Regions from separate parts of the Homo sapiens genome. Here all the other regions are linked to region 3. The links are contacts of gene promoters, found by promoter capture Hi-C in blood cells and fetal thymus (Javierre and others, 2016). All regions are on one chromosome and are shown on one strand. The core of a region is centred on a gene start or on the middle of the fragment in contact, and the rest is flanking DNA. Distances in the headings are between cores, read along the strand shown.

What was found. Contacts are between HindIII fragments. The CHiCAGO score rates a contact against its expected background, and 5 or more counts as called.
Region 1: the fragment with the promoter of DPPA4 here is called in contact with the fragment with the promoter of NECTIN3-AS1 in region 3 in 6 of 17 cell types (M2 macrophages, M1 macrophages, M0 macrophages and 3 more); the score reaches 9.1 in M2 macrophages.
Region 2: a contact is called between a fragment that was not itself captured here and the fragment with the promoter of NECTIN3-AS1 in region 3, in 1 of 17 cell types (endothelial precursors). The highest score is 6.4, in endothelial precursors.
Region 4: a fragment that was not itself captured here is called in contact with the fragment with the promoter of NECTIN3-AS1 in region 3 in 5 of 17 cell types (endothelial precursors, total CD8 T cells, total CD4 T cells and 2 more); the score reaches 10.3 in endothelial precursors.

What each region holds. Positions count from the first base shown.
Region 1 is chr3:109,334,360-109,339,847 of GRCh38, reverse strand. DPPA4 (developmental pluripotency associated 4) reads left to right here and starts at 2,302. Exons shown (of 7, transcript NM_018189.4): 1 at 2,302-2,384. The coding sequence starts at 2,331. RefSeq lists enhancers at 371-978, 2,197-2,804, 2,805-3,413, 3,414-4,022. The HindIII fragment of the contact is 8,399 bases long and covers 1-5,488 here.
Region 2 is chr3:109,721,898-109,727,776 of GRCh38, reverse strand. The region is part of intron 2 of LOC124906267 (a long non-coding RNA gene); the gene reads right to left. Among named protein-coding and RNA genes, the nearest start is that of MIR4445, 120 kb to the right of the region's middle. The HindIII fragment of the contact is 1,283 bases long and covers 3,852-5,134 here.
Region 3 is chr3:111,068,352-111,073,465 of GRCh38, reverse strand. It overlaps NECTIN3-AS1 (NECTIN3 antisense RNA 1), which reads left to right and starts at 3,507. Exons shown (of 4, transcript NR_045114.1): 1 at 3,507-3,676; 2 at 3,995-4,202. LOC151760 (putative uncharacterized protein LOC151760) reads left to right here and starts at 1,700. Exons shown (of 4, transcript XR_007096272.1): 1 at 1,700-1,974; 2 at 3,995-4,202. NECTIN3 (nectin cell adhesion molecule 3) reads right to left here and starts at 1,650. Exons shown (of 6, transcript NM_015480.3): 1 at 1,289-1,650. The coding sequence starts at 1,448. RefSeq lists a silencer at 1,823-1,922. The HindIII fragment of the contact is 1,000 bases long and covers 3,302-4,301 here.
Region 4 is chr3:109,737,935-109,743,755 of GRCh38, reverse strand. All of the region lies in intron 2 of LOC124906267 (a long non-coding RNA gene), which reads right to left. Among named protein-coding and RNA genes, the nearest start is that of MIR4445, 140 kb to the right of the region's middle. The HindIII fragment of the contact is 1,213 bases long and covers 3,779-4,991 here.

The DNA.
Region 1 (5,488 bases), core at 1,053-3,552, 1.7 Mb after region 3:
GAAAAGGAAAAATAAAAGAAAACCCAACCAGAATACCCCTAAATCTCTCAAATTCATTCCTCTCCAACTCTTTTTTTTTTTTTTTTTTTGTCTTTTTCTTGAAACAAGGTCTCACTATGTCACCCAGACTGGAGTACAGCGGCATGATCACACTGCAACCTCCACCTCTTGGACTCAAGCGATCCTCCCACCTCAGCCTCTCGAGTAGCTGGCACCCCTGCGCCACCACGCCTGGTAATTTTTTGTATTTTTGGTAGAAATGGGGTTTCACTATATTGCCCAGGCTGGTCTTGAACTCATGAGCTCAAGCGATTCTCCTGCCTCCCAAAGTGCTGGGATTACTGGCATGAGCCACCACGCCCTGCTCTTCTGATCCCAACATGTGCTGTGCCAGCCACTGTTTTCTCCAGACACTGTTTTCTCCAGACATGCCCACAACCCTCTAAGTAAAGGCTATTATTTTCATGACTCTCATTTCATGGATGAGAAAACAAAGAGACCTAACGTTATTGCCCAGGTCACACAGCTAGTGAAGGGGAGGTTGGGTTTAAATCCTGTCTGGCTAGCTGCTAAAGCCTTACATTTAAAAATGAATCAATCTGGCCTGGATTTGGTGTCTGTGTTTTTATGTTTTATTTTTATTTTATGTTTTATTTTGAGATGGAGTCTCACACTGTCACCCAGGCTGGAGTGCAATGGCACGATCTTGACTCACTGCAACCTCTGCCTCTCCAGCTCAAGCAATTCTCCTGCCTCAACCTCCTTGGTAGCTGGGATTACAGGCACGCACCATGCCCGGCTAATTTTTGCATTTTTAGTAGAGAAGGGGTTCTGCCATTGTTGGCCAGGCTGGTCTCAAAACTCCTGAACTCAAGTGACCTGCCCACCTCAGCCCCCCAAAGTGCTGAGATTACAGGCGTGAGCCACCATGCCCAGCCCAGAACTCCAGTTATTCTGAATGTTACGTTCAATTACACTGACAAAAGAAAGATGATTCAGTTATACACTTTATACACAAACCTTAATTAGAAAGTCCTACTGGTGGTTACCAAAGGCTGTGGTAAAGAATTGTTAAATCAAAGCCCTAATATCTCCCAGATGACCTCAACTCACCTGGTTTCCTCTTTGCCGCCTTGGGGGTTGCCCAGTCCACAACCTGCACTTCCTTCTCTATTCCTGGGCTCCGTTTACTTACTTTTTCTGTCCGTGGATTTCTAGCCTGTGAGCAGATTACTAACACCATTTGGATAAAGACAGTCTCTTATTTATCATTTTAGGACAAGCAATGAGATGTAGGAAAAAAAAACAACAAAGTAAACCAAAGAACAAAAGAGACTTTGGACCCTGACAAGGGAGGGTTTCAGTCGCACAGCCACTGCTTCCTTCACTTCACATCTCTTGACAATCTGACAGGGAGCACTGATCTGAGGAAAGATTTTTCAAATTATTTTAAGGAGAAAAACTTGAACTTCTTTGGGAGTCAGTAGGTTAGGGGTTCACTTACTGTGCTATTGAAAAAGTTACCAATAAAAATTTATACCAACTTTAGTCATATATAAAATGGGGAACAATAATGACTGAATTTAAAACTCACAATTTGAGATATAAAAAAATACTCGGGCGGGGAGTGGTGGCTCACGCCTGTAATCCCAACACTTTGGGAGGACAAGGCTGGAGAATTACTTGAGGGCAGGAGTTCGAGACCAGCCAGGTCAAAATAGCCAGACCCCCCCACTTGCCCTCTACAAAATAAATAACAAATACTCTATAGACTTTAAAAGCTACTATTATTAGTTCGTTGGCAGATGAAAAGATGCTCGGTATTAGTACAGAGAAACCTGGAGTTTTAGTTGGTTGAGTAACTTACTTAGGAAATGGAATGTATTTGGTACGAGAAAATAGCTTTCTTCAAGCCGCCAGTCTGGTCTCTGAAGTCTACTGTTGCCACAAGTTCCATTATTAAATCCCTTCACACATCCTGCTCAAGTCTCTGGCCACTGTTTTTTTGTTTTTTGTTTTTTGTTTTTTTTCCCCGTAGAATCGTTCTGAAGGAGTGCTCAATCTCCCAATGTCTCCGGAACCATACTTTGGATAATTACATTTAAAGTGAACAGAAAAGGGCCAGGAATAGTATTAGTAATTCAACCCAGACAAAAGTCACCCCATGAATAAGAAAGAATGCAATTTTAGCATTTACAAATTGTGGGGGAGGGAACAGAAGGGGAGAAGAAAAGAAGAGGTGAGGTGGAGAGAAAAAGGGTCTTCGGGCGGCAGGAAGTGGGAGGAGACTTTGCAAATAGCAATCTTGGGGCAGGGGCCATTTTGGAAGCATGTTGCGAGGCTCCGCTTCTTCTACAAGTATGGAGAAGGCAAAAGGCAAGGAGGTCAGTACAGTTTTAGTGGATTTGTTTTCTGTCTGTCTTTGTGTTTCTGTCTTCCCTGGGCACTCCTGATTTTTCCTTTAAGGAGAAAAGAATGTGCCTTCGAATTTTCTCCTCTTGACTTTTTTTTTTTTTATTTTAAGAGTAAGGCCCAAGAATATGATTGCAGCCTGGTATATTGGAGTGAGCAGACAAGTAAGAAATGAGGTTTTCTAGGTTTAGTTGAGGAGGTTGAGTGTGTCAAAAGATGGGGAAAAAAAAAAAAGAGGCCGGGCGCGGTGGCTCACGCCTGTAATCCCAGCACTTTGGGCAGCCGAGGCGGGCGGATCACCTGAGGTCGGGAGTTCGAGACCAGCCTGACCAAAATGGAGAAACCCCGTCTCTACTAAAAGTACAAAATTAGCCAGGTGTGGTGGCGCACACCTGTAATCCCAGCTACTCGGGAGGCTGAGGCAGGAGAATCGCTTGAACCCGGGAGTCGGGGGTTGCGGTGAGCCGAGATCGCCCCATTGCACCCCCAGCTTGGGCAACCAGAGCGAAACTCCACCTCAAAAGAAAAAGTTAAAAAATTAGGTTTTCAGGTTTGTGTTTTGGAACAGGGTTTCACTTTTGTCTCCCTGGCTGGAGTGCAGTGGCACCATCACTATTCACTGTAACCGCCCAGGCTCAAACGATCCTCCCACCTCGGCTTACCAAAGTGCTACTGGGACTGCAGGCGCCCGCCGCTGCTCCCGGCCCGGGTTTTCTGTTTTGAAGAGGTGCTTAGTCCTGTCAGAAAGAACTAACTGAATATGGGGGCTAGAGGGAAATGGTAACAGGAGAAAAGGGTGTTAAAGGAAAGATTTTAGGAAGAGGTAATTGAGCTGAGTTTGGAAAAGAATGAAACCCCTTAATTTCCTTTAGACGGACACAGATCCTAAACCGAGGGTGCTGAGAATGAATTCGTCCCCTTTTCCCAGCGTCCTTAGGACCTAGGAGTAATCAGAAGCCAGACATTGGGAACAATGCAGACAGAAACTGAAGGAAGAGAGGATTTAAGACGTTGCACAGGCACTGAACGGCCATATCCGAGCGCTCTCAGGTCCTCTTGACTTGAACTGGGTCATTTTTAACTGTCTCGGTTTTAAGTCTTTTGTGAGGTCCAAAGTGAGTACTTTTTGTAAGGTTTATGCAAATATAAATTTCAAATCAAAATGTAGAACTGCTATAGAGATGTAAAAATGCCATACAAATGTTAATTTGTCCAGTAATCCACCCTGAAAGTGAAGAAAAGGATTTAGATTTAGGAGAAATTTTATTATATTAATTTTTTTTTTTTAATGAGTTTGACTCTGTCGCCCAGAGTGGTGTGCAGTAGCCGATCTCGGCTCACTGCAGCCTCTGCTTCCCGGGTTCAAGCGATTCTCCTGACTCAGCCTCTCGATTAGCTGGGATTGCAGGCACGCACCACCACGCCCAGGTAGTTTTTGTATTTTTGGTAGTGACTGAGTTTCGATATGTTAGCCAGGCTGGTCTCGAACTCCTGACCTCAATCGGTCAGCCCACCTCGGCCTCCCAAAGTGCCGGGATTACAGGCGTGAGCCACGGAGCCTAGCCTTTATATTTAAATTTTAATTTATATCTAATGTACCCCTAATCTGTGTCTTTATGTTACCTCTGATTCTCAGCTTCTGTGTCTGAGAAGTAATTGTTGCCAGATTGCTATGAGAATTAAATGAATGAAAAAAGGAAGGCCAAGGCCAGGCACAGTGGCACACGCCTGTAATCCCAGCACTTTGGGAGGCTGAGGTGGGCGGATCACTTGAGGCCAGGAGTTTGAGACCAGCCTGGCCAACATGGTGAAACCCCCATCTCTACTAAAAATAGAAAAATTCAGCCGGGTGTGGTGGCAGGCGCCTGTAATTCCAGCTAGTGGGGAGGCTGAGGCAGAGAATTGCTTAAACCGGGGAGATGGAAGTTGCAGTGAGCCGAGATTGGACCACTGCACTACAGCCGGGGTGACAGAGCGAGACTCCTCTCAGAGAAAAAGAAAATAGGGAACCCTTGGGCGCAGTGGCTCGCGCCTTTAATCCCAACTCTTTGGGGAGCCAAGGCGGGAAGATTGCTTGAGGCTAGAAGATTGAGATCAGTGGGGGGAGACATAGGGAGACCTCACCTCTACAAAAAATTATCCTGTAGTCCCACCTGCTCAGGAGGCTGAGGCAAAAGATCACTTGAACCCGGGAGGTAGAGCTTGGAGTGAGCTATGGTCCTGTCACTGCACTCCAGCCTGTGTGACAGGGCAAGACCTTTTCTTTAATAAATAAATATTTTTTAAAAAAATGAAAGTGAGGAGCATATCAAAGCCAATGCCTAGTATGAGACAGAGGCTCAATATATGTTACTGTCTCTGGATTAAACAACTTTTCCCCACTCCCACTTTGCTTCCTTTAATTCAATGAACCAATATTTATTGAGTGCCTATGATGAAAAAGAAATCACACAAACCAATGTAATTGCAATTAACAAGTGGTAGAAATGAGGTAGTATTTAGTAGATTGGTCTGGAAGGACCAGGTTAAATAGCACTTGAGGTGAGACTTTTAAAAGAAGAGTAAGATTTTTAAGGTGTAAGATTTTAAAGTGTAAATAGAAGTAGGGTGGAGGTTGGGGCTGAGGAATGTAACAACTTTGGAAAGGAAAGGAATTATGTGGCTGGAGCTTGGTCAGGGAGAGCAGTGTGAAATAGGAGATAAGAGGCTGGTAGGTAATGTTAAAGACAATTACTTTTATGTTAAGAGCAATAAACCACTGAAACTTTTCATAGTGTCACTCTGCCAACAGTGTTAGAAAATTATTTGGAAGGCGTCAAGAATGAAGGACTGGGGGAAAAAATTCTGCCAGGTGAGAGATGATGGAATATAGTAAGTGAGTTAAGGGCCTCTTTTTTTTTTTTGAGACAGTCTCATTCTGTCACCCAGGCTGGAGTGCAGTGGTGCAGCCTCTACCTACCTCCCTGGCTCAAGCAATCCTCCTATCTCAGTCTCGAGTAGCTGGACTACACGCACACACCACCATGCTCAGCTAATTTTGTTTCCTTATGTAGAGGCAAGGTTTCACTATGTTGTT
Region 2 (5,879 bases), core at 3,244-5,743, 1.3 Mb after region 3:
GATGAAATGTTGTTTCCTGTGAATCCACTAAAAACTACTTACATTATTCTTAAACAAATTAACATCACCTAGTTTATTATTTTTAAAAGATTAATATTCTTTTTAGAATTGTCCCAGTTGATTTTTTGAACACACCACACACACACACACACAAACACACAATTAGATAGATAGATAGATAGATAGATAGATAGATAGATAGATAGATAGATAGATGTTTTAATATATTTAGGGAGTGGATAGGCTATATTCCATTTAATATTTCTTGACACACAATAATTTGCCTGAATTTAAAGTGGTAAGTGGTATTTCTACAGTACCCTGGTTGTCCTATGTGCAATTAATTTAGACCATCACCATCACCAATTCTCTATTTTGGAGGCATCACACTACCTGACTTCAAACTATACTACAACACTACAGTAACCAAAACAGCATGGTACTGGTACCAAAACAGAGATATAGACCAATGGAACAGAACAGAGCCCTCACAGATAATACCACACATCTACAACCATCTGATCTTTGACAAACCTGACAAAAACAAGAAATGGGGAAAGGATTCCCTATTTAATAAATGGTGCTGGGAAAACTGGCTAGCCCTACGTAGAAAGCTGAAACTGGATCCCTTCCTTATACCTTATACAAAAATTAATTCAAGATGGATTAAAGACTTACATGTTAGACCTAAAACCATAAAAACCCTAGAAGAAAACCTAGGCAATATCACTCACGACATGGGCATGGGCAAGGACTTCATGTCTAAAACACCAAAAGTAATGGCAACAAAAGCCAGAATTGACAAATGGGATCTAATTAAACTAAAGAGCTTCTGCACAGCAAAAGAAACTACCATCAGAGTGAACAGGCAACCTACAGAATGGGAGAAAATTTTTGCAATCTACTCATCTGGCAAAGGGCTAATATCCAGAATCTACAAACAACTTAAACAAATTTACAAGAAAAAAATCAAACAAACCCATCAAAAAGTGGGCAAAGGATATGAACAGACACTTTTCAAAAGAAGACATTCATGCAGCCAACAGACACATGAAAAAATGCTCATTATCACTGGCCATCGGAGAAATGCAAATCAAAACCACAATGAGATACCATCTCATGCCAGTTAGAATGGTAATCATTAAAAAGTCAGGAAACAACAGGTGCTGGAGAGGATGTGGAGAAATAGGACTGCTTTTACACTGTTGGTGGGAATATAAACTGGTTCAACCATTGTGGAAGATGGTGTGGCGATTCCTTAAGGATCTAGAACTAGAAATACCATTTGACCCAGCAATCCTATTACTGGGTATATACCCAAAGGATTAGAAATCATGTTACTATAAAGACACATGCACACGTATGTTTATTGCAGCACTATTCACAATAGCAAAGACTTGGAACCAACCCAAATGTCCATCAGTGATAGAATGGATTAAGAAAACGTGGCACATATACACCATGGAATACTATGCAGCCATAAAAAAGGATGAGTTCATATCCTTTGTAGGGACATGGATGAAGCTGGAAACCATCATTCTGAGGAAACTATTGCAAGGACAGAAAACCAACCACCACATGTTCTCACTCATAGGTGGGAACTGAACAATGAGAACACTTGGACACAGGGTGGGGAACATCACACACCAGGGCCTGTCATGGGTTGGGAGGATGGGGGAGGGATAGCATTAGGAGAAATATCTAATGTAAATGACGAGTTAATGGGTGCAGCAAACCAACATGGCACATGTATACATATGTAACAAACCTGCATGTTGTGCATATGTACCCTAGAACTTAAAGTATAATTTAAAAAAAAAAATATATATATATATATACACATATTGGTTAATGGAAACTATTTCAGTCTTAATTGTAGTGAGTCTCACATCCAAGAATAATCTGTGAGTGACAAAAAAAACAGCATCAACAGCATCTCCAAGATTTGCTCTCAGCTTGCCTGAAGATGCTGGTTTTCTGCACATTGATCAGAGTGCCATTTCTCCAGATTCCAGAATACTCAGCTGACACGATCAGATGTGCAAATACTGCCTCTGCAGTTGCTTCCATCATTTCAATGAATCTAGAGATTGACTCTGAGCTTTCAGCGTCAAACACAGGCAATCCAAAGATGGCTGAGGAATTCTTTTGCAAGATTTATATTTTGCAAATATAGGCCAATCAATCACTCTTTTTGTAAATACACCCACAAGGTGACTAGATATTCTCTGCCAATTTTCTTCTTTCATTCAATGTGGCCTCAGAAGTTGTTTGATGACAGGGAAACTGCTATGGGAAATCCTAGGCCTGTCCCTGGATGTCAAGGATGGGTTACAAACACATGCATCACAGGCCCTACTGCTTTAAAACATCGATGAAAATAAATTGTCCGTCTTCAGTTACTCATTTGCTTTAAATTTACCTAGTGTTAAATCCTCAAAATACAGAAAGATCAGGCAGTTCACAATTTCCTCTCCAAAGCGAATATACCAAATTAATCGAAGCATCTATTCCTTTATGCTGACTTAAAGCAGCAGGATTTGCAAGATGTTACTTGAAGAATACACAAGAGGTAAATGAAAAATCTATTTTTATTTACTACTTTGTTTCAGATTACATACAGGGAGTTAAGCAGGTTCTTTGGGGCTGAGCAAAAATTTATCACAGTAGTTTACCTTACGAGGTCCCTGCCTAGACCACAGGCTAACTCACCTTCTCTGGTCCCCCATTAATATAACAAAGCAGGCCTCTCACAGCCCTATTTTACTACATCCCCTAATGTCCCTCACTTCTGGCCATTGATTCAAACTGCTCAATTTCTCTCTCCTGAGATTTGTACTTTGGCCAATGAGGCAGCCATCCACAAGTGCATGGAACTACAACATAGGAATGTGTTAGCTGTGAGCTGTGATTTCCTGAAGCCCAGCTTCATTCCTGTCCTTAATTTCCATGCAATATTCCTACTTTCTTACAATAACTCTCCCTTTTGTTTTTCTTAATCTAGCCTAAGTTGACTTCTGATACCCTCACCTAGTACAAAGGAGGCCAATGGAGATATATATATATATATATATATATATATATATATATATATATATATATATATATATATAGTTTTTTTTGAATGTGTATGCAGCATGGAATTAACCTAGGCACCTTTCACTAAGGCACAACATTTGGGGATTGCAGATTCTTCCTATACCCTACCCACAAATTCTTTTCACTTTCAGGTTATCCTTAGTTTTCATTTTATTTTACAGAGAATAAAATTGAGAATCACAGATTCTCAATACTTTGCAGAGCACAGAATAGATTGACCTGTCTAGACTTCAGAAAGAAGTAAGTAAACACAATGATTTCTATTACCTGATGAACCTGCTTCATTTTTATGCTTTCTCCTCCTGTGATTATCATTTTTGTCTGTCCTTAAGTGCTCACTAAAATTCCCACATTGTACATTCATTTTGAAGAGAAAGCTTGTTAAAATATACACCATTATTTTTCTTTAAGTCTAAACAAGTGAAATGACCTTCACAATAGGAAACTGGGAAAACCTGTTCTTTCCTTTTAAACATCTCTGCACATCTGTACCACGCTGGCACTCAGTAAATATTAAAGATCTGTCACAGGTATTGTATTATGATAATTCTCATTAATACAGAAAAAAAAAAGAAAAATCTGACAGCCCAATTGAGAGAGGCAATAGTGAGACTGGCAGAACTAGCCCAAGGGCCTTCCCTTGGGCTAGGGACCTTCCATGTCTGGAGTCTCCTGACAACTAGGCCAGTATCTTCATGCTGCCCTCAGGGAACCCCACTCAGTTTCACTGATCAGATATTATCAACTAAGCTTCCAAAAAGTCTTCTTTCTCTCACCATGCCCCCAGTAATTTTACAGTTTCTCAGACCTAATTTTATTTGTATTGTTATCCCCTGCCTTATTTCACCAATGATTGAAGGAGTTTATGAGAGTACATTTTTTAAATAGAAAAAAATTTAAAAATTGATTAATAATCATATCCAAGAAAATGAATTTAATTGCAAGAGAGACATCCCTATTGCAATGTCTCAGAAATTAAGGAGAAGGATAGCAGTTTGTTCAAAATATCTAATCAGGTCCTTAAATGTGGCTACACTAACCCTCAAATAAAAGAAAAAAATGTTTGTCTCCTTTAAGCTCTGTATTATTTAGGCCTTTGTTATTTAAAACTTAACTTAGCTCTCCCAGACTCAAAGGCTGGTCTCCCTTAAGATCTATCCTCCATTCCCCTAGATTTCTCCAAATCTGATCTAGCCCATCGAATAGAATGTCTGGAAACTTCTACCAGGAGAGTCTAGGATTAACTTTCACATAGTCCAGTGGATGTGGTCTGGTAACTTGAGTGCAAATTAAGGTCCTGATGCTCAGTTCATCTGATGTCAAATGGATAAGTGTTGAAACACACACACACACACACACACAAATTCATAGCCCTCACCTCAAAATCAGAATTCAGTCTAAATCAAAATCAATAAATGTTTATTGAATAACTTTTATGTGACAACCACTATCTAAATACATCTTAGGCATTTTCTCATTATTATTTACATGTATCTTTGAGATAAGTACTATTTTTTGTCACTTTCTATAGGTAGTTTACCTTCTCAAGGTCATCTTATTGTTGAAGCTGGCTGCTAGAATCCTTGACATTTCATCTGTATTCTAATAGGAAGAAGACAACCACAAAGAAAAGTGTGGCTGCTGTTTTTAGAAACATTTCTTAGAAGTTGCACACACAATTTCAGCTTACATCTCATCATCTAGGATTTAGTCACATGTGTACACCTGCAGCAAGGAAGTCTGGAAAATGGGGTCTTTATTATAGATAGACATTTACCTAGCTAAAAATCAAGGGTCTGGGGCTAAGGAAAAGGAGGAAACAAATTATAGACAACTAGCTGTCTTTGCCATGGGAGGAGTTTCCCAAATTGATCTCGAGGAGGACATGATGCTGAGAAGCAGTTAACATCTGGATGATTCACAGGGATAAGGAGATCAATTCTTCCTTGGATTCCATGTACTATAGGATAATGAACCTAGAAATGAATAAGGGGAGTTTAATACTTCACTTATATATACATAGAAGGTCAAAGCTTATGGGAAAGTGAAAACAGAGAAAAGTCCTTATTGCTACTAAACTAATCATTTACACATTTCACTTTTCCTATAAAGAGGCAAAACAGTGTATCTAAGGGAAGCAAGTGTTTCCAGACACTGATTCTTGAAACATCTGAACAAATTTCTTGGTGGGACTTTACATAGGAGATATAAGTCGTGTGGCATGAAGTCCTTGTTACCTTAAACAGTTTATTCAGTAGAAAGAAATTATCTTAATTCCATTCAGCTAAGATGTAACTGAAAGGTAACCAGTCTTAGTGTATTAAAATCCCCCAAGATATGTATCCTCTAAAAAGATAAACCTAAAATTATATCTAGTAGTAGGATATTTTACATATATGATGGGGCTAAAGAGAATTCTGGTTGCCCTTCAAATTATATCTCCTGAAGGTGAAAGACCTCTACATGGAGAACTCCAGAACACTGATGAAAGAAGTCACAGATGACACGAACAAATGGAGAACCATATGCAGAAGAGTAATACTGGACCCCTTTGTCTCACCATATACACAAATTAACTCAAGATGGATTAAAGACATAAATGTAAGACCTGAATCTATAAAAAATCTTAGAAGAAAACCAAAGAAAAATTTTCTGTGCATTGGTCTAGGCAAAGAACTTGTTACTAAGTCCTTAAAAGGAAACATAACAAAAATGAAAATAGACAAATGTAACTTAAACTAAAAGCCTTCTGAACAGCAAAAGAAATAATCAACAGATTA
Region 3 (5,114 bases), core at 2,258-4,757:
TTCATTACAGTGCTGGAAACGTGGTGGTAAACTGTCAGTGGAAATTCTCAGCCCAGAAGAGACACTCAATCCCATCATGCAAACTTTGCTTCCCTCATAACCAACTACCCTGACTCACCTACCATGTAACAGGATTCTCCTCCTTCTAAATCACACTATTCAAGAAATGTGCACACATCTCTCCTTTTAATAAATACTAGTAAAACTTCAGTTTACGGTTTTATGAAATACTGAAAACCAATCTTTGACCAAGCTTAAGTTCTGCCCCTCTACTTTTCTTACCAAGAGCCCTCAAATAAATAACTACTCGCAGTGTTCTGATACTCCTCCTCCCACCAAAGACTGGTGTCCTTATTTTCCCAAATCGCTGCCTCCCATTAATTACCACTTAAGTCCATTTCTCTTGCATGAGGCAGACTTTTTTTTTTTTTTTTTTTTTAGCACAGTCCTTAATAAGCAGGCTTCTAGTCTGGCATACCTGGGAAGAAAACTCAGAGACTAACTCCCAAATATGACAGGAAAACAGTAACATAACACGAGGGTCAAGAGATGGGAAACAGGCGCGTGACTGTTTTGGTTAGAACAGCCGGGGCACACAGTCCATGAAATCAGGTATTTAACACGTAAATCTTGTTCCTGCGGTTTGGTAAAATAAGCACGGGCAGTGTGAGAGACGTCCCACAAGCTGGAGGGCAGGGACGAGGGTCAATCTAGAGAGCTCCAGAAGCTGTCAGGGCAGAGCCGGGGGAGTGGGCACAAGACAGAAGAAAACTAGCTGTAGGGGATTCTGCGGCTGGGTGGGCTAAAATGGTGCCTTCTCCAGGGTGGAAGGCCATGAGAAGTGGACCCGGAGGCTTCATTCCATCGGGCTCCGGTCCCTAGGGTTTCTGGGCTCACAGCTCAAGTTTCACCGGGAAAAAAAGCGGCAAACGTGCATCCCGGCACCTTAACCTACGAGGGTTCCCAGAGAATGAGCGAGGAAGTAACGGTCCCCGGAGCAAACCCGGAGTTCGGCGCACGAAGCACCATCGCCAACCCTCGGCCATCCGCACGGCGACCCGCGCGGCCGCGGGGGAGGGCAGCGGGCCGCCGGCTCAGCATTCGCTGGCCTGGCCCTTCCAGGGCCTCGCCCCGGGCGCGGCGAAAAGTTTCCAGCCAAAGTCCTCGGCACTCGCTCGCACAACCAACCGCCTCGCTGCTCCAGAGAACGGCTGGCAGAGCCGGCCGCGGCGCCCGCACCCTCAGTGGCGGCTCCCTCAGCCCACGCCGGCCGCCGAGGTTCACCTACCACAGAGCCTGGAGAAGAGCAGCAGCGGGAAGAGCAGCAGCAGCAGCGGAGGTGGCGTCGGGGGCTGCAGCAGGAGCCCGGCTCCGAGGAGAGAAGCGGAGGAAAGTTGTGCTTTGCCGCCTCCAGGACACAGCGGGGACGGCCGCAGGGTCCGCGCCATCCCCCACCCTCCCCCCGGCCCGCTCGCCCGCCCGCCCCCCGGCTCCCCCGGCCCCGGCGCCTCAGGCTCTGGGCGGAGGCTGTGGAAGGTCCGGCGCGCGCGTCCCCAGCTCCCAGCTCTAGCGCCGTCGCTGCCGGCTGACACTTGGCCGAACGCTGGCGGCTGCCTCGACACCGCCGTCGCCGACGCCACTGCCGAGGCTGAAGCGGGAGCCGCCCGCCGCCGCCGCCACTCCCCTCCCCTCGGCACCCGCCCGCGTCGAACTCCTGGGAACTCGGAACGCACCACCCCGCCCCACGCAAGAGGGGGAAAAGAAACCGACTCTCAGAGCGGGCGCCCGACTCGCCCGCCCTCCCCGCGCAACTCCACCTCCCGTCTGATCCCCGGGCGCAAGCCCTGTCTCCTCCCACCCCGCCCTCCTACACATGCTCCTCCCCTTTCAAAAAAAAATATTCTTTTCATCCACTTTGATAACGGGGTTTCTCCCACAGCAGAGATTTAAAAGGGACAGGAAAATCTGGAATAGGTTAGTCGGCCCCGCCCCTCGTTCCTGCCTGGTTTCCCCCCTTCCCTGCCTTTCCAATGGTCTCGCCCACTCCACCCCTCGCGGGTCCACGGGGGCCCCGGCGCCGACTGAGGCGAGGGCTGCGGGACAATCACGCTCGGCCTTCTCCTCTCCCGGGCGGCGCTCTCCCTGTGGCGGGGACCTGGGACGAGGGGGTGGGGTGGGGAGGGGAAGGCAGGAGGGGGCTGCCCTTCCGTTGCCCATGCTAAAGGTTCCTGTGTAGGAAGCTGGACGCAGCCTGCTGGACTAGTAATCTTCCTCCTCGCTGGGGCGCGGGGCACTGAAGGGAGGGAGAGACTTTCTCCTCCTTCCTGTTCCCCGGGACAGCTGTGCTCTCCGAATCCTTCCCTTCTTCCCAGCCCACTTATTCCCCGCTCGCCAAGGCACGTTTGCACAGGCATTTTTCCTGCTCTTTTTTCTGGGAGGGCAGCTTGGTAGAATGGTCGGCGGAGCTGGGCGAGGAGAGGGGTCTTCAGAAGGTTTGCTTTCTTGCTCTTGCTTCTCACTGGCCGCTGGGCTGTCCACTTTCCGCGCCGGGCGACTGGCAACAGGAGGCCATGGATTTCCCCCAACGAGTGCGTTGGTGTTTTTCTTTGGTTTTGTTTCCTTTGCATGTTCGTATGTGTAGTTTTATTTTCTTGCCTGTTTTCGTTTGATGGCAGAGAGGCGACCTCGGGAAGTATTAAACATTTGCCCGTATAAGAAGAGCGTCTGTGGTCCACCATGACCCTCGCTCATCCCAGGTGGCTCTCCGCCCTGCCCTCTCCATCCTCCCGCCTCGCACAGTACCGGCAGCTTGACCTTGGAGCCACTGCCACATTGGTTCCGCGGGGGGAGTAGGAGGGTGGACAATTTGGACTGTCCAGCGTAGGGGGTGAATTGAAGGCAGAGGACACCAGTCCTCAGGCCTGACACTATTAATTTTATGTAGGTCCTGTCATCTCCACGAGATAGCCATAAATGTGTTCCAGTAACAGGAAAGCTGAACAAGGATCAGCCGCCCAGAAGTTAGCCTGTCGCAGCTAAACTAATGCATGCTTGCGGCCAAGACCACGCTGTCCTCGGCTTTCAGTCAATAGGGTCTTCCCACCTTCCGCCCGCTGGATTACAAGGCTTTACTAACCTCCAAGGCTACAAGCCATTCTACACCCTGCCCACCTCTTTTTTCTTTCTTAACTTCTGCCTCCCTTCCAGTCTCCCAGCGCTCGGTCTAGTGCCTTTTTCCCTCCAGCCCTTTCCTCTTCCCTCCCTCCCTGTGCCTGTCTGCCTCTGTCGTCCCCTGTAAGCTTGTCTCCTGCAGCCAAGGCTTTCTATCACCTATTCTCAAGATGCACTTATGAATAAACCTTGTCCTGCATCGCTCCGGGAGATCCCCTGATGATGATCATAATTGACAAAATGTAGCTATTGTGACATTCCTCAGCTGTGCTGACACCACCGTTTCCCTTGAGAAAATTTCTTTTTCTATATTCGCATTCCCTAAACCTAATTTCACTGCTAAATTTAGACAGCTCACTGCGCAGCCACTAGCTAATTATCTGTTTAGATAGCACTTTAACACGTTGTTGAGACTCAGTTAAATGTTAAACAACCAAAATTTTAATATCACTAGCCAATTTCATTCTTCCAGGTTTTCCCTGATGGCTCCACATCTCCAAGAAAAGTAATTTAGCCAACATTTCAAAAAATACCAAAGGCTTAACTTGGGTAGGGGCCATCGGGCAATTGCTACAGAGACCATAAGGAATTAGCAGGTTAAGTTCGTCTCAAAAAGATGACATGGAGCTTTAACAAATATATTTCCTCCATACTTACAGAAATTGAATAGTGGTCTGCTATGATATTCTCTGACCTAAAGTGAAGAGAGAGCATGGAAGAGCATTATTTATAGATGTTATATAAGCATTAAAAGAGCACCATGCTGGTGTTTTATGTGCATATATGTATTATATTCTAATAATAATAATTTGTGTTTATACAGCATCTTCAACTAAAGATGTCAAAGCACAAGCTCACTTCCCACGGAAGGTAGCAATTACTATTATCTACTTGACAGCTACAAGAACCTAGGCACAGAGGTTAAGTGCTCTGCAAATACTACCAGCCAGTGGTGGTTTTCCTGCCAGAACCAAGTTCTTGCCTTCCAGTGGACACCATTGATCTCTCAAGATGATTCTTTAAGTTAAAAAGTAAGATAACTCAAATTTCTACTTTCTATAATAAAAGTGCCCAATCTTAAATTACATTCTCCTCAGATGAGTGAATTTTAGACATACTCACCCCAAGCTTTCCTGTTGGAAATTTTTACTGGCCACAGAAAAAGATTTTACATTACATATACAACTCATGTTTTTCAAGGGCAGAAATACTATTAATTTTTTTAAAACCTTTAGCATGAGAGTATTAGTGCGTTCTATGCCATTTTTAGTCTTCTAACTTTATACATAAGTTCACATTTATTGTTTGAATAACAAACTGTTTAAGGAATACTTAATTATAGCTAACTTATTAATATTTCTGACACCATTGAATAACAAAGTATACATGCATTTTTTCAGAAAAAAATTATCTGAACAGAAAGCAATGTAATCCTAATGCCAACAATAGTTTCATTGTTTTGGGTTAAGAGTACTGATGGTGTCCATCCTACTTTCGGCTCAAAGATTGTTTGCCAATTATCAAGGTTCATTAACTCTTAACTAAAAAACAAAGGTTGACATCTTAACAAAGAAGTAATTATGTACAGTGCTGGGCATTTTACATTTACTCAAATAATCCAAGTGAAAAGTTTGAGACTATTATTAGAATTTCATAGCTGACTCTGAAACAAAGGAGGTATTTTACAGGAGAGGTAAGACATTATATACTTCAGCTAATTCTTCTTAACATCAGCAAATTCTATAACCTGCTGTGTGAGGACGCATAGCTTTTCCTTTAGTAAAAGAGATGAATGATATTTTGTAGAATATTTGAACTTTGTACTATATTTGATAATAAGCTTATGTTATCCAGTTAGGATCACAGTTTTTGTAAAGAGAATTATGCAAATAATAAAAAACAAACTGCAAAATCGCAGAAAAGTCCATCCACTTGCAAAACGT
Region 4 (5,821 bases), core at 3,136-5,635, 1.3 Mb after region 3:
CATCAGCATCTTATTTTTCTAAAGGGACCATCACCTTCTGACTCTGACAAAATATGTATAGCAATAGCTGGAGTCACTTTGTGGTCAATTAACTCTATCTCTCAATAATTATAACAATCCAAAAATATGCCCTTATAGGATAAGTACTTTTTAATAATTTTAGCAGATTTTATTAAATCTCTCTGCTGACTAAGACACCATACTTATGATTTGTGTCCCTTCCTTCCACACCTGGCCCTTAGTGTATTACAGATGAGATTCTCAAATACTTTCAATATGAGGAGGAAACCCAACATAGTAAGACTTAAAGAAATACATCAGAGGATTAACAGTCAAGAGACATGCATTGTCTTTTCTACTCTTTAATTTACCAGCTTTTGATCTTAAACTGGTCACTTCACTTTTCTAAGCTATTTCTCCTTTATTTTAATTTTGAAATATGGCTAAGGTAAACTATGAAGTATTCACCAGTTACAGACTCCCGTGACTGGTTCACATTATGTTAGTGTAAAGAATAAGGTGGTCTACCCATTGCCACATCCTCCTGCCTTGCTTGCCATATCATGAGGCCGAAAGTATTCAGCTAGAATAAATGAAAGTCATTAAAGAAACAAATGGGAGAAGCAGTGTGACTGAATTTGTTTTCCTAACTGTGTATTAGTGAATTGTTAATTCACATTATGGAACAAAATGGCCTTTAAAAGCATCTAGATAAAAACGTCTTAGTTAATAGATGGAAACTGAGACGTGAAACAATTGTCCAAGATTCACTACTTAACTAGCAGCAAAGCCAGGACCAAGACTCATTTCTCTTGACTCCAGTCCATTGTTGTTGCTGATTTGTAAATGTGTCAGGGTTAACAATAATATGACAATGAGTAAGACTTTAAGAAATTCTGTCTAACTGACATTTAAAGCCACGTTGCTCATCTTTTTGTGTGCCTCCCAATATTATCTGTCCCAAATAGTATGCAGAAGCTGGGAAGAACGGGAAGGGCATGAATGATGAGATAACAGCTTGGGCCTCTCAAACTCAAATGACAGTAGTTGCTTATGGCCTTCATGGATCCACTACCATCTTAATTCAGTTTTTTGGCAATAACCACAAAAGTTATCAATTAATATGGTTGGAAAGAAAATTGATATTTCAAAAGTAATCCAATAGAGACTGCTAGTATATTGAAATCTATCCTCAATTTAGTTATGGTAACATGTAGTGATCATAATTTATCTGTGCCTTCATTTCCTCTCTGTATTTATCTCCAATTTTCTTTACTGCGTTGCTTCCAAAATATTTCTCTGACCTCTCAGCACTGGAGTCATCTTTTATAATTGGTACTACATTCCCCAGGATCTCACCTAAAATGTCTCAAAGATCGGGAAGGGGTGATGCTGGTCTGGCAGCAAGGCACAGGGAGGCTGGGACACTTGTTTGAGCTTTGCTATTGCAAACAAACCAGCAAGAAACCAGACGGCAGCTGGTCTTGTTACTCAGAGAGAAGTTTGAACTAAATCAGAGCATGGTCACCACACACTACCAAAATAAGTGTCTCTTTAGTCCTTCAGGAGTTGAGATATCTGAAAGTTTTAGTTTTCAAGAGATCTAAAGGTGTTAAGAAAAACTTTTCAGAATTAGCAGCTAAAAAGACCACAACCACTCTGGACTCTGGCATTGGTTCCATTTAGAGTCTTTCATAACTTATTTTATTGGTGGCTCTTTCTTCCCCAGTATATTGAATGTAAGTTATCATCTCAACTATTGATTGACTTCTCTAACTTAGATTTTTAAAATGTATTTTTACATATGTCATAGAAAATTATAGCTCCTTACCAAAATCTGTTTTTTCTTTTTTTTTTTTTTCTGCTGGGAATCTGACACAGATACTGAAAAGAGGACATGGGTAGACAACGTCCTTCACTCAATATTGGCAGAGAAACACAGAAACCAACAGCCATGGGAAACTGAGGGAAAAGATATCTGCACTTTGTCTCTGATCCCCTCTCAGTTCCCCAAGCAGAGGAGTCAGGACTTGAGAAGAGACAGAAACGACGTCTAATGCAAAGACAGACCCCCACCCCTGAATTGAGAGAGAGGAAGAGAATAAAGGCATCAGAAGAGACCCATGCACAAACGTAAGTGTGAACTTTTAAAAGAGCAAAAAAAAATGACAAATAATAAATGGTGTTGGAAGGATGAGCAAATGAAAAAAGAGAATGTGCAAGGAATTAAAAAATTGAAAGGAAAGTTTCAAGAAGTATTAGGGAAACAAATTGACTAACGCACCATTGTAATCTCTATTTTCACAGATGTAATCACTGAAGTTGTTCAAGTACATTTCATAGTTTACCTGAAGTAAAAAAAAAAAAAAAAACCCAAGGGCAGAAACAGTCCTAATTTTTACTTGACTCTTTGAGTCACCGTCCCTCTAAGGATATGGTCTTTTACATTTAATATCCCTTATAAAAATATTAGTGAGTGATTGAAAACCACAAAGCAGGCATATTTCCTATGAGGAGGTGAAAAAGTGACAAAAGCGTTTTCCGAACATAGCAGAAAGAAAAAGCCAGACTTTTGCATTCAAACGCCTACACAACAGCATGTCACTCAATTAACCTGAAACACTTATTTGTAAGTGACATTTTATAAATGTATTCTGAAAGGGAACCAGTCTAGTCTTCATTTTTGATAATGGATGTTAATTCAGGAGCTAAGTATTGAATTCTAATAACATAAAACTAGCTCTCTATCTTATATCCACAGTTCAACTTATATTAATAATTATAAATGAAGATGGTCTTTTTGGGTAAATATATAAATAGATGCAACATATGTAATGGGCAGGACAATTTAGAACCATCCCTTTCCCATCCCCAGGTATTAATTAGGTTAACTATTTTCTTTTTTAAGAGCTTACAAAACTCATTAAGAAGCAGACAAACTGGAATTCCACTGTCAAGTTTGTTCATATTTAAAATTATATTTACATTCAAATGCACTTTTTAAAGTTTAAAGGGCATCATTGTTTTGTAATTATTACATAAATTATATTATATCATATTGCTGAGTAGGTCGTACTGGCATTAGAGATGTGTCTAAGATTACCTCAAAACACTTTTGGCCAACATTCATCCTCATCTTTTAAGATGGCTCTAGTTCACTTTATAAATAAAACAAAGCTTTTCTAGTATTTTCAGCATGGGTGGTAACTGCTGGTGTCATGTTATCATAGCAGCAGTCTACATGTGCATGTTCATGCTTAAGAACATGTACATTAACTCACATGTTCAGAAAGCGCTTTTCTTTAAAACAGCAATTAGAGGCTCACATTCATAAAACTTTGTTTTTTTTTTAATTTTATTATTATTATACTTTAAGTTTTAGGGTACTTGTGCACAATGTGCAGGTTAGTTACAGATGTATACATGTGCCACGCTGGTGTGCTGCACCCATTAACTCGTCATTTAGCATTAGGTATATCTCCTAAAGCTATCCCTCCCCCCAACCCCCACCCCACAACAGTCCCCAGAGTGTGATGTTCCCCTTCTTTGTTTTCTTGAGAAGAGTCATATTTCAACTCCTAAATTTAGCATTAAGAGCCCTTCAATAGCGTGCCTTATACTCTTTCAATCTCATTTCCAAATATTGATTTTTCTCCTTTCTGCCCCTTCTTATCTACTTATCTTTTCTGTTGATCTTTCCTTTCTTCACACTTTTGTTCAGTTCATCTTCTCACTGGCGTAATTTCCCTCTGGCGTAATTCTATTCATTATTTAAGCTTCAGTTTGTTTTATTTTTTCAGCTTTATTAAGATATAGCTGACAAGTAAGTCATATAATTTACAGCATACAATGTGATGTTTTGATATATTTATACATCTTGAAATGATTGAATCAAATGAATTAACATATCCATCACCTTGAATAATTATCTTTTTGTGGTGAGAACATTTAAGATCTACTCTCTAAGAAATTATTACTATTAGCTAGGGTCACCATGCTGTACAATAGATCTCCAGAACTTATTTAACTTGTCTGTCTGAAACTTTGCACTCTTTGACTAACATCCCATTTTCCCTTTCCCCAGCCACTACTAACCATCATTCTACTCTCTGCTACTATAGTTCAACATTGTTAGATTCCACATATAAATGTGATTATGCAGTATTTGTCTTTTTGTGCCTGGCTTGTTTTGATTAGCATAATGTCCTCCAGGTTTGTTACAAATGACAGTATTTCCCTCTTTTTTAAGGCTGAATAGTATTCCATTGTGTATATACATCACGTTTTCTTTGTCCGTTCATCCACTGATGAACACTTAAGTTGGTTCCATATCTTAGCTATTGTGAAAAATGCTGCAGCTTAACATGGGAGGGCAGATATCTCTTTGAGAACTAATTTCATCACTTTTGGATACATACACAGAAGTGAAGTTGCTGGATCACATTAAGTCTTATTTTTTATTTTTTTAGAAACCTCCATACTATTTTTTATGACTGTACTAATCTACTATTCCTACCAGCAGTGTACAAGGGTTCTCTTTCTTTCATATCTGCCTCAATACTTGTAATCTTTTGTTTTCTTGCTAATAGCCATTCTAACAGGTAAGAAGTGATATCTCATTATGATTTTAACTTGCATTTTACTAATTGTTAGTGATGTTGAACATTTTTTATATACGTTTTGGCTATCTATATATCTTCTTTTGAGAAATGTCTATTCAGGTCTTTTGCTAGTGTTTTCATCACATTGTTTTCCTGTTATTGGGTTGTTAGAGTTCCTTATATTTGGGATATTAACCCTTATCAAATGTACAATTTTCAAATATTTTCCCCCATTGCCTAAGTTATCTTTTTACTCTATTGATTGTTTTCTTTGCTGTGCAGAGGTTTTTAATTTGATGCAATTTTACTTGTGCATTTTTGTTTTTCTTGCCTGTGCTTTTGGAGTCATATCGAAAATAAAATTATTGCCCAGGCTAATGATAAGAAGCTTTTTTCCTGTGTTTTCCTCTAGTAGTTTTACAGCTTCAGGCCTTAAATCTAAGTTTTTAGTCCATTTTGAGTTGATTTTTGTATACAGTGTGATATGGTTTGGCTTTGTGTCCCCACCCAAATGTCACCTTGAATTGTAATAATCCCCACATGTCAAGGGTAGGACCAGGTGGAGGTAATTGGATCATGGCAGTGGTTTCCCCCATGCTGTTCTTGCGATAATGAGTAAGTCTCACAGAACCTGATGGTTTTATAAGGGGCTGTAATTTCCCCTGCTTGCACTCATTCTGTCCTCCCCCTCCATTAAGAATGTGCCTGCCTCTCCTTTACCTTCAGCCATGATTGTACATTTCCTGGGGCATCCCCAGCCATGCAGAACTGTGAGTCTATTAAACTTTTTCCTTTATAAATTGCCCAGTCTCAGGTATTTCTTCATAGCAGTGTGAGAATGGACTAATACAGTAAATTGGTACTGAGATAGTGAGGCACTGCTTTAAGGATAACCAAAAATGTGGTAGCAACTTTGGAACTGGGTAATGGGCAGAGGTTGGAACAATTTGGAGGGCTCAGAAGAAGACAGGAAAATGTGGGAAAGTTTGGAACTTCCTAGATACCTGTTGAATGGCTTTGACCAAAAATGCTGATAGTGATACGGAAAATAAAGTCCAGGCTATGGTGGTCTCAGATGAAGATGAGAAACTTCTTGGGAACCGGAGCAAAGGTGACTCTTGCTATACTTTAGCAAAGAGACTGGGCAGCATTTTGCCCCTGCTCTAGAGATCTGTGGAACTTCGAACTTGAGAGAGATGATTTAGCATATCTGGCAGAAG